2 separate regions of the Homo sapiens genome follow, and region 1 is linked to region 2. Evidence: promoter capture Hi-C in 16 types of primary human blood cells and fetal thymus (Javierre and others, 2016). All regions are on one chromosome and are shown on one strand. The core of a region is centred on a gene start or on the middle of the fragment in contact, and the rest is flanking DNA. Distances in the headings are between cores, read along the strand shown. Region 1 overlaps MYCBP2 (MYC binding protein 2). Region 2 holds the start of MYCBP2-AS2 (MYCBP2 antisense RNA 2).

The links. Contacts are between HindIII fragments. The CHiCAGO score rates a contact against its expected background, and 5 or more counts as called.
Region 1: a fragment that was not itself captured here is called in contact with the fragment with the promoter of MYCBP2-AS2 in region 2 in 2 of 17 cell types (total B cells and naive B cells); the score reaches 5.2 in total B cells.

What each region holds. Positions count from the first base shown.
Region 1 is chr13:77,123,037-77,127,274 of GRCh38, reverse strand. MYCBP2 (MYC binding protein 2) reads left to right here. Exons shown (of 83, transcript NM_015057.5): 53 at 733-957; 54 at 1,807-1,939. Among named protein-coding and RNA genes, the nearest start is that of MYCBP2-AS2, 44 kb to the right of the region's middle. The HindIII fragment of the contact is 1,885 bases long and covers 1,979-3,863 here.
Region 2 is chr13:77,078,609-77,082,493 of GRCh38, reverse strand. MYCBP2-AS2 (MYCBP2 antisense RNA 2) reads left to right here and starts at 1,304. Exons shown (of 2, transcript NR_170173.1): 1 at 1,304-1,580; 2 at 1,833-1,983. MYCBP2 (MYC binding protein 2) reads left to right here. Exons shown (of 83, transcript NM_015057.5): 64 at 501-657; 65 at 843-1,067; 66 at 3,605-3,670. All of the region lies in intron 2 of MYCBP2-AS1 (MYCBP2 antisense RNA 1), which reads right to left. The HindIII fragment of the contact is 5,615 bases long and covers 1,156-3,885 here.

The DNA.
Region 1 (4,238 bases), core at 1,672-4,171, 43 kb before region 2:
ATTTACTTAAATCCATGTTTAATTTCTCCTTTCTACTAAAAATATAGTCTGTTTTTCTGTTACTAGCATTAATGTATCACTGCATAGTAATGGCTTAACAAATCTAGCAAGACGTTTTTATTTGTACAATATTAGAGAGTATAAGTTGTTAAAATATTGTAAGCATCAATATTTCATTCATAACTAACAAATAGCAAGATATAGCTATATTTTTAATGCATATTTTTCATCATCTCTGCTTATGGATCAGTTTTCAGATTCTTCATACCTGTTTTCTCTATTTATAAATAATTATTTCAACATGGGAAGAAATGAATATTTAGACTTTTTTTTACCCATAACAATATACAGTAATGCAGTAATAATGATTCAAAATTATTCCCTTGTGGTTCACATAGTATAGTATTTTTATTTTTCCAACTTTAAATATTGCATTAAAGATAAAAGTAAAATCAAGGATGATTATATTTCTCAAATTATGGTGGGCAGAAGCCAGAGGTTGACTGGTTTCCTGCTATATTTTCTTGCCTTCAACTTTATTTTAAATAGCATTGTTGAAAAACTGAGATTCTTTAATTAGTGCTAATGACTAATTCTTCAGTTATCTTTAGTTATGTGTTTTTTTTATATTGACAGTACTGTAGACTTGCTATAAAAGCTATTAATAGGAAGGCTTTGAAAGTGATAATAGATTGTATTTTGTTTATTTTTCTTTCCTATTCAAATTTTCAGGAATCTAAAACTAATACTGATGACTTTTTCAAAGACATAAACTCCTGCTGCCCACAGGAAGCAACAATGCAAGAACAAGATATGCCATTCTTGCGAGGAGGGCCAGGCATGTACAAGGTAGTGAAGACGGGACCTTCAGGTCACAACATCAGAAGCTGCCCTAACCTTAGAGGTATCCCAATTGGAATGTTAGTTCTGGGAAACAAAGTCAAAGCAGTGGGAGAGGTATGGATTCTTGTAGCTTCATGACTTCTAAGATACTCATTTTTAATGTAATACAACCAAAGCATCTCTTCTAAAGGTTGCCATTTCTACCACAGGTTTTTCAATGTTAATGTATTTTATCTTTACTTGTATTGCAAATACATAATTTTTCTGTGCTTCTGTCTAATGATTTGCATAATTATCCTTGTGTAAACAATATATTAACAAATGATTTGTATTGTATATATAAATGTTTGGTATTTGCACATATTTTTTCATTATTACAAATGTACTATACCATCATGGATTATCATCACTTAAAATATTCTATGTGATCGGTATGGAGATGTGGTCATATGCAAAAGGTTTCATTTCTTTGTTCCCATTCATAGGTCTCACTGAAGTCCTGAGCAAATAAAATTACTCTTTAGGCTACTGTGGCATTTGCCTCAGCTGATAAGCTTGAAGATGTAGTGTGTCATGCTATTTCTCAGTAAGGGTCATTTTCAAGTTACACTATGGATACTCTCAACCTAAATAATAGCAAGTCGGCTGTGTTAGGACATTTTAGATGCAGAAAAAAGAAAATGAGCCATGTGTTCTTGGGTAATTCTTAAAATTATTTAGGTGTTATCTTTGTGCTTTGAAAGTTATTATTTTAACCAAATTCATAAATAAGCAGTATTTTACAGAACTTTTTATTGACTTCTGTCTTACCTCAGGCTGTGGCCTTAATTTCAGAAACTAATTTCTTAGTAGAAATGTATTGGAATGATTACACTATTCAGACACGTAAGATTTTTACTGGTTTTCAGACTGAGTTCCCTGAAAGAATCAAGCCAATCAATCATGCTTTTTGTTATGTACCAGGTAACCAATTCTGAAGGGACATGGGTGCAACTGGATCAGAACAGCATGGTAGAGTTCTGTGAGAGTGATGAAGGAGAGGCATGGTCCTTAGCTAGAGACAGAGGCGGAAACCAGTACCTCCGACATGAAGATGGCAAGTTGGCTTAAATTTGTGATTTATTCCAATTAAGCTTTCAAATACAGAAGTTTAATGCCTATTGTATTGCTTTTGTTTTAAAGAGTTTTTTGTGTGTTTGCTTTTTAACAAGCAAAACTAAAAGTTAAAAAATCTTGCAACTGTTAAAATTGGTTTGTAAAATACGTGAGTACTTAATGCACATTAAAGAAGAAAATTAAAAGAAAATTCGAAACATATAGACTCATCTTTATAAAACAGGCTTTTAATTTCATTAATATAAATTTATATACCTCTTTCTTCTGTACCAGTCCAGGACTGAACGTTCTATCCCTTCTATAATAAAATGAAACTTCGGTATTCCAACTACCAATCTCAGTACTTCTCCCAGGCAACTTCATTTGATTGCATTTTGTCTTAGGGAAAGAGCATTGAATAAATGCATAGTGTCTTTAGGGTTTCCTGTTGTTAGATTTTCAACTTTAAATTTTATTTTACCTTTTTCAACATGGCTATCACTTAATAAAATATATTCCTTTTTGTCCCCCTCTCTTTGATATCTTGGTGGCAAAAATTTGTTCTTCGAAGTTGAGACCACATTATCACTTGTGTGATGCTTTAACTGATCACAACAGAGCAAAGAATTTCTTGTGTTCCTAAAGAATTGTGCTCACCACTAGAACAATAGTGTCATAGTGAAGTTCATGTTTATTTCTTCATACCCAGTTATGAGTCCCTTGTGGACAGGCACATGGTTTTTATCTTTCCATTCCTAGTACTGAAACAGTTTTGACACATACTAGTTGCTCATGAAGTTTTGTAATACAACTTGAATTATAAAAATAATAGCACATCAAAATAAGTATGTAAGCAAACATGGACTTGTCTGCCAAATCCCAAAATTTATAGGATGAAGTTAGGTAAATAAGAGAACATGCATCTTTATTCAAAAGATAATAAATTTATAATACTTATTATTCCAAGAGGCAATTTGGCCATAAATATGGATTCAGAAAAGGTTTGAAATTTGCAATAATGATGGAGTATCTTTGGAGATATCTCCCTTTTTCCCCCCACAACACACCTTTGAGGTAGGTGATATAATCTTAAATTTATAGGTAGGAAACTCAAGCTCTAGAATTTAAACTAACGTGTCTATGGTTGTACAGCTGGTGACATAGCAGATGTAAGACTTCAGCCAGAATCTTCATTCGTGTTTTAAATGCTGTACTCATTACACCATGCTGTACACATTGAGCACAACTTGAGAACCTACCTCCTCTCCTTGTTTTTCCCAGATAGACTTTTTTTAGTCTAAGATGATATGGTCATAAAATAATGTCCTGAAACAGTAGAACTGTTCATTTGAAAAAGATAAGGGTTCCGCTTGATGTAAATCAGACATTTACTAAATGACTTTTTCACTTACTATGTGCTTATTATATATTGCTGTATATTTACTTCATATTCATAAATTTTTAAACATTTTTCTTTATATAGGAATATTCAGATATAAATGAAAATACCTAAGGGGAGATCAGCTTTATTTAAGATAAGTTAAATATGAGAACAGCTTAGGTGACTTCTAAAGGACTTTTCTAGCTTAATCCTTAATAATTTTTTAACTGGCAGTACAAAAAATATGTAAGAGTGGATTCTGAAGCAGGACTGCCAGGGTACTGATCCCAGCTGTGCAACTTTTTACTCATGTGACCTTGACCAAGTTAACCTAATATCTCTGTGCCTCAGTTTTCCCATTTATAAAATGACCTTATAGGTCATAACCACATAAATTTGATATGAAGACTAAATGAGCAAATAACAGATAAAGCTAATGGATGGTAAGTTAGGTCTTATTGTTAAAATGCAAAATGCCTTCCATGCTAAGGATCAAGTTTTAACCTGGGAAATTTTATTCTTATAAACTTAGAAGATAGAAGCTTCTTTCAAGATAAAATGCCTCTTAAATTAGAGTATCATTTAAGAAAAGTTTAAATTTTTCTCTGTAATTAGTTAATCATCTTTTACTCTTGATGTATAGATACAGACATAAATATGGATATTTGGTGATCATGTGAATCTTACTATTTTAATATAAAACCTGGAGTGATAAGGAAAGAAATGATATGAAGTTAGTGCCTTTAAATCACTAAGATTAGTTGATGTGCTGCCCAAATAGTCTGTTCATTGGTGATAATATTTAATATGGAAGTACAAAGATTTGGCACTATGGTAATTTATATGAAGTCATGTGAGTAAAACAAAAGCTTTCCTCTTTGTAAAAATTCTCTATTGGTCTTTGAAATCTGTAGTAGGC
Region 2 (3,885 bases), core at 55-2,554:
TCCTAATTAATGTATACAAGAAATAGATTGATGGAATGCTTGGGCTTCCCATGTTACTAATGATAAGACCAGTGGAAGAGAGATTTCTCTTTGTCCTCCTCACAAGATTTTTGAACTACAAGATAAACTATACCCTGATGAATTAGTATGGCATTGTAAGAGTAATAAATTTGAGGGGTTGTTGCAGTTGGTGTACCACTTGTTTACACAATAGATTCATTACCCTTTTTGCTTCTGTAGCCTTGATCTTCATCTGTCTAATTCTTTTATATTTAAAATGGGTCAACTTTCCTTAGAATTTACCTTGTTCCAAAGAAGTTACCTTTATTTCTCAAAAACAAAAACAATAGGAATGATTTTCTTCCCTGAATTTTTAAAATGTCTGTTACTAGAACATTAAAATTTCTTGAGATATTAGCTACAGAGTACTCATCTAAGAGTTCCTTAGATGTTCCTGGAAAATAATTATTTCGTATATTGCTTATATATCGCCTTTTTAGGTGCTGGAGTCTCAAATTCAAGCAATCTGATCACCAGTTCCTTCATCAGAGCAACGTCTTTCATCACATTAACAATATTTTGTCAAAGTCAGATGATGGCGATAGTGAAGAGAGTTTTAGCATCAGTATACAGTCTGGCTTTGAAGCTATGAGTCAGGTCAGTCATTTCAGTTATTATCCTGGTTGTCCTGTTAGTTAATAATACATCAAAGGAGAAACTGTAAGTTATTCATAATCAATTTGATCCTGTCTTCCATTATGTTTTATCTTATACCTGTTTGTTTTATCATCACGAAAGATTTGCTTTTAAGTATCATAAGTACTTATATTTGTTTCTGATAGGAATTATGCATAGTAATGTGCTTAAAGGACTTAACCAGCATTGTTGACATAAAAACTTCAAGCCGACCTGCCATGATTGGCAGTTTGACAGACGGCTCCACAGAAACCTTTTGGGAATCAGGAGATGAAGATAAAAACAAAACTAAGAACATCACCATCAACTGTGTAAAAGGAATCAATGCCCGCTATGTGTCTGTTCACGTGGACAATTCCCGAGATCTTGGGGTAAGAAAGCAAACGTGATTTACGGCTCTTTAGCTCTTTTCAGATCTTAGTATTCATGCACTTTCATTTCTGAATTTAGCAACAAGCTTTATCACCTGGAATTTCACCAACCAAACATCATTGCTATAATCCCCAAATAAATCTTAAGTCTAAAAACAAATTAATATGATTGGGAGCACTGTGGAATTCCATTTCTGAAAAGAGGTCTGATTACAAATATACCATGGCTACAGCTAAGCAAAATGAAAGTCTGCTCTACAATTTTCTGCTGCCATTCCCTTGGTTAAGATTTTCCCGTGACCTGGAAGTCCTCCCCTTAAACTCTGCTGATCAATTCTTCCAGGGTCTCTCAAACTCAGCAGAGAAATTCTAAGTAACTCCTCTAAAAAATTACTCTTTCCCTCTGCTGATTCTTTTTGTATTACTCTGGTGGCACTTAATAATAATCTTTGACCTATAGTGTAATCAGCTTTTTTTTTTTTTTCTGAGATGGAGTCTCCCTCTGTCACCCAGGCTGGAGTGCAGTGGCACAATCTTGGCTCACTGCAACCTTCGCCTCCAGGTTCAAACGATTCTCCTGCTTCAACCTCCTGAGTAGCTGGGATTACAAGCACACGCCACCATGCTTGGCTAATTTTTGTATTTTTAGTAGAGACAGGGTTTCACCATGTTGTCCAGGCCGGTCTCAAACCCCTGGCCTCAAGTGATCTGCCCACCTCAGCCTCCCAAAGTGCTAGGATTACAGACATGAGCCACTGCACCCAGCCTATCTTCAAGTGTCTACTTTGCCACAGTCCTCATGAAATAAAAAATAAGTTTCAGACTGTCCCAAATAATCATAATTTATATTCTCTTCAGCCTAGTTCATCCATGTGTTTCAACTGAATTAAATATTCTTTTATAAAAGGCACTAAACAAGAAAAAAGAGTCCTATTTGCTTGAGTATTAACAACCAAGAAAGAAATAGCACTAACTGCCAGACTGCCTTTCTTCTACCTCATTTAGAATTTTTTTCCTCAGAATGGATGTGGCTTGCTAGCAGATACAGTATTAATGGCTCTCCTTGAACCATTGCCTGGCTTCTCCTGTGCCATTTGCATATTTCCTTTCTCAGGAAGAGCCACAGTGGTAGGATTGGGTCTCAGATAACCTGGATGCAGGCCAGTCTGCAATCAGAGCAACCTCCAACTCCTGTACATCAGTGCAGGTTCTATTCCTCCCTGGTATTGAGTAAGTAAAAGAGGCTTAGCTAATATAATATGAGCTATTTCCTCCTCAGACCTAAGAATTTCCACTGGTGTAACTACTTTATCTTACTGGAAAGTCAAGTGTAACAAAGCAAAACATTTTTGTAGCTAGAACTCACTGTTCAGTGCAAAGCTATCTTTGGCTCATGGTACATTTTAAGCAAGGACATACTCTCCCTCAGAACAATGATTGCAATCAATTTAACACTTCTGTCTTTTCTAAGAGGAAATAATCATAACAGTATTCATTTTCAAAATTCCCAACATGTAAGCTGACATCTACTTTCCTTTTAACAGGCTTCCTCTATGTTATAGGTTGAGCATTCCAAATCTGAAAATCCAAAATGCTACAGAATCTGAAACTTTTTGAACACAGATATGACACTTAAAGGAAATGCATATTGGAGCATTTCTGGTTTTAGATATTCAGATTTGGGGTGCCCAGCCAGTAAGGATAATGCAAATAGAGTATTTCAAAATCCTAAAAAATCCCTAATCCAAAACACTTCTAGTCCCAAATATTTCTAATAAAGGATACTCAACCTGTATGTATGTTTTCCTTGAGTTATGTACCTCCATGTTCCTCAACCTGCCTACCACAGAGCCTTGTACACAGCATTTGTTGATTTGAGTTGTATCAGCCTACAGCACTCATATTATGCAGCTCTCCAAGGAATTAATGTTAATCTATTTCTTGATGTGCTTTGCGTAAAACTTATTCAGCCTTAAGATATTTGACACTAGTTTGAACATGTATTGAACTTGTACTGTTTGACATTTATTTTGTGTATTAATGTTGCCTTCCCTAGTTTGGCAAGTATCTTGGGGGATAGAACCTCCTCTCATATATCCTACTTCAAATCTGTAAGGAAGTCTGGGTACATTGTGACACTCATAAGTATTTGTTAGTTCAGTTACCTTCCCTCTTTATACTTCCAAAAGTAATGAAAATATAGCAACAAGAGTCTGACATAAGTGACAAGCAGATTTGTTGAAAGGCTTCATGAGGAAGGAATCTGAATATTTAGACTTTGAATAAGGAGAGGGAATGTCAAGCTGTGAGAGAGCACCTGGAGAGAGGCTGAAATGTGCAATTTAAGATGGAGTTTGTGAGAATGAGACTAAAGTTATAGGAACCGTGGTTAGTTGGAGGGATGGGGTGGGGTCAATCAGGAAGGACCATAAGAGACAGGCAGAAGAGTTGATGTGGTATTAGTAGGTCATGAGAAACCATTGTAAGTTCTGAAGCAGGAATATAGCATATTAACTATTGTGAATTGTCTATTTCAGAATAAAGTTACCTCAATGACCTTCTTAACTGGCAAAGCAGTAGAAGATTTGTGCAGAATAAAGCAGGTAATTGAAATTTTGTCATTAAATGTTTCGCTACCTAGAGAGAAATTTCTTCTTCTCAGCCTTCACTATTGAATTCCACCCTTGGCACACAACCAAAGTATTATAGGGAATTATCTATTTACAGAACACTAAATTGACAAGTGGTCCAAAACATAGGAATAGTAACCACCATCCCTGTGCTGGACATCTCACCTGTTTTCCTAAATGTTCCCCAG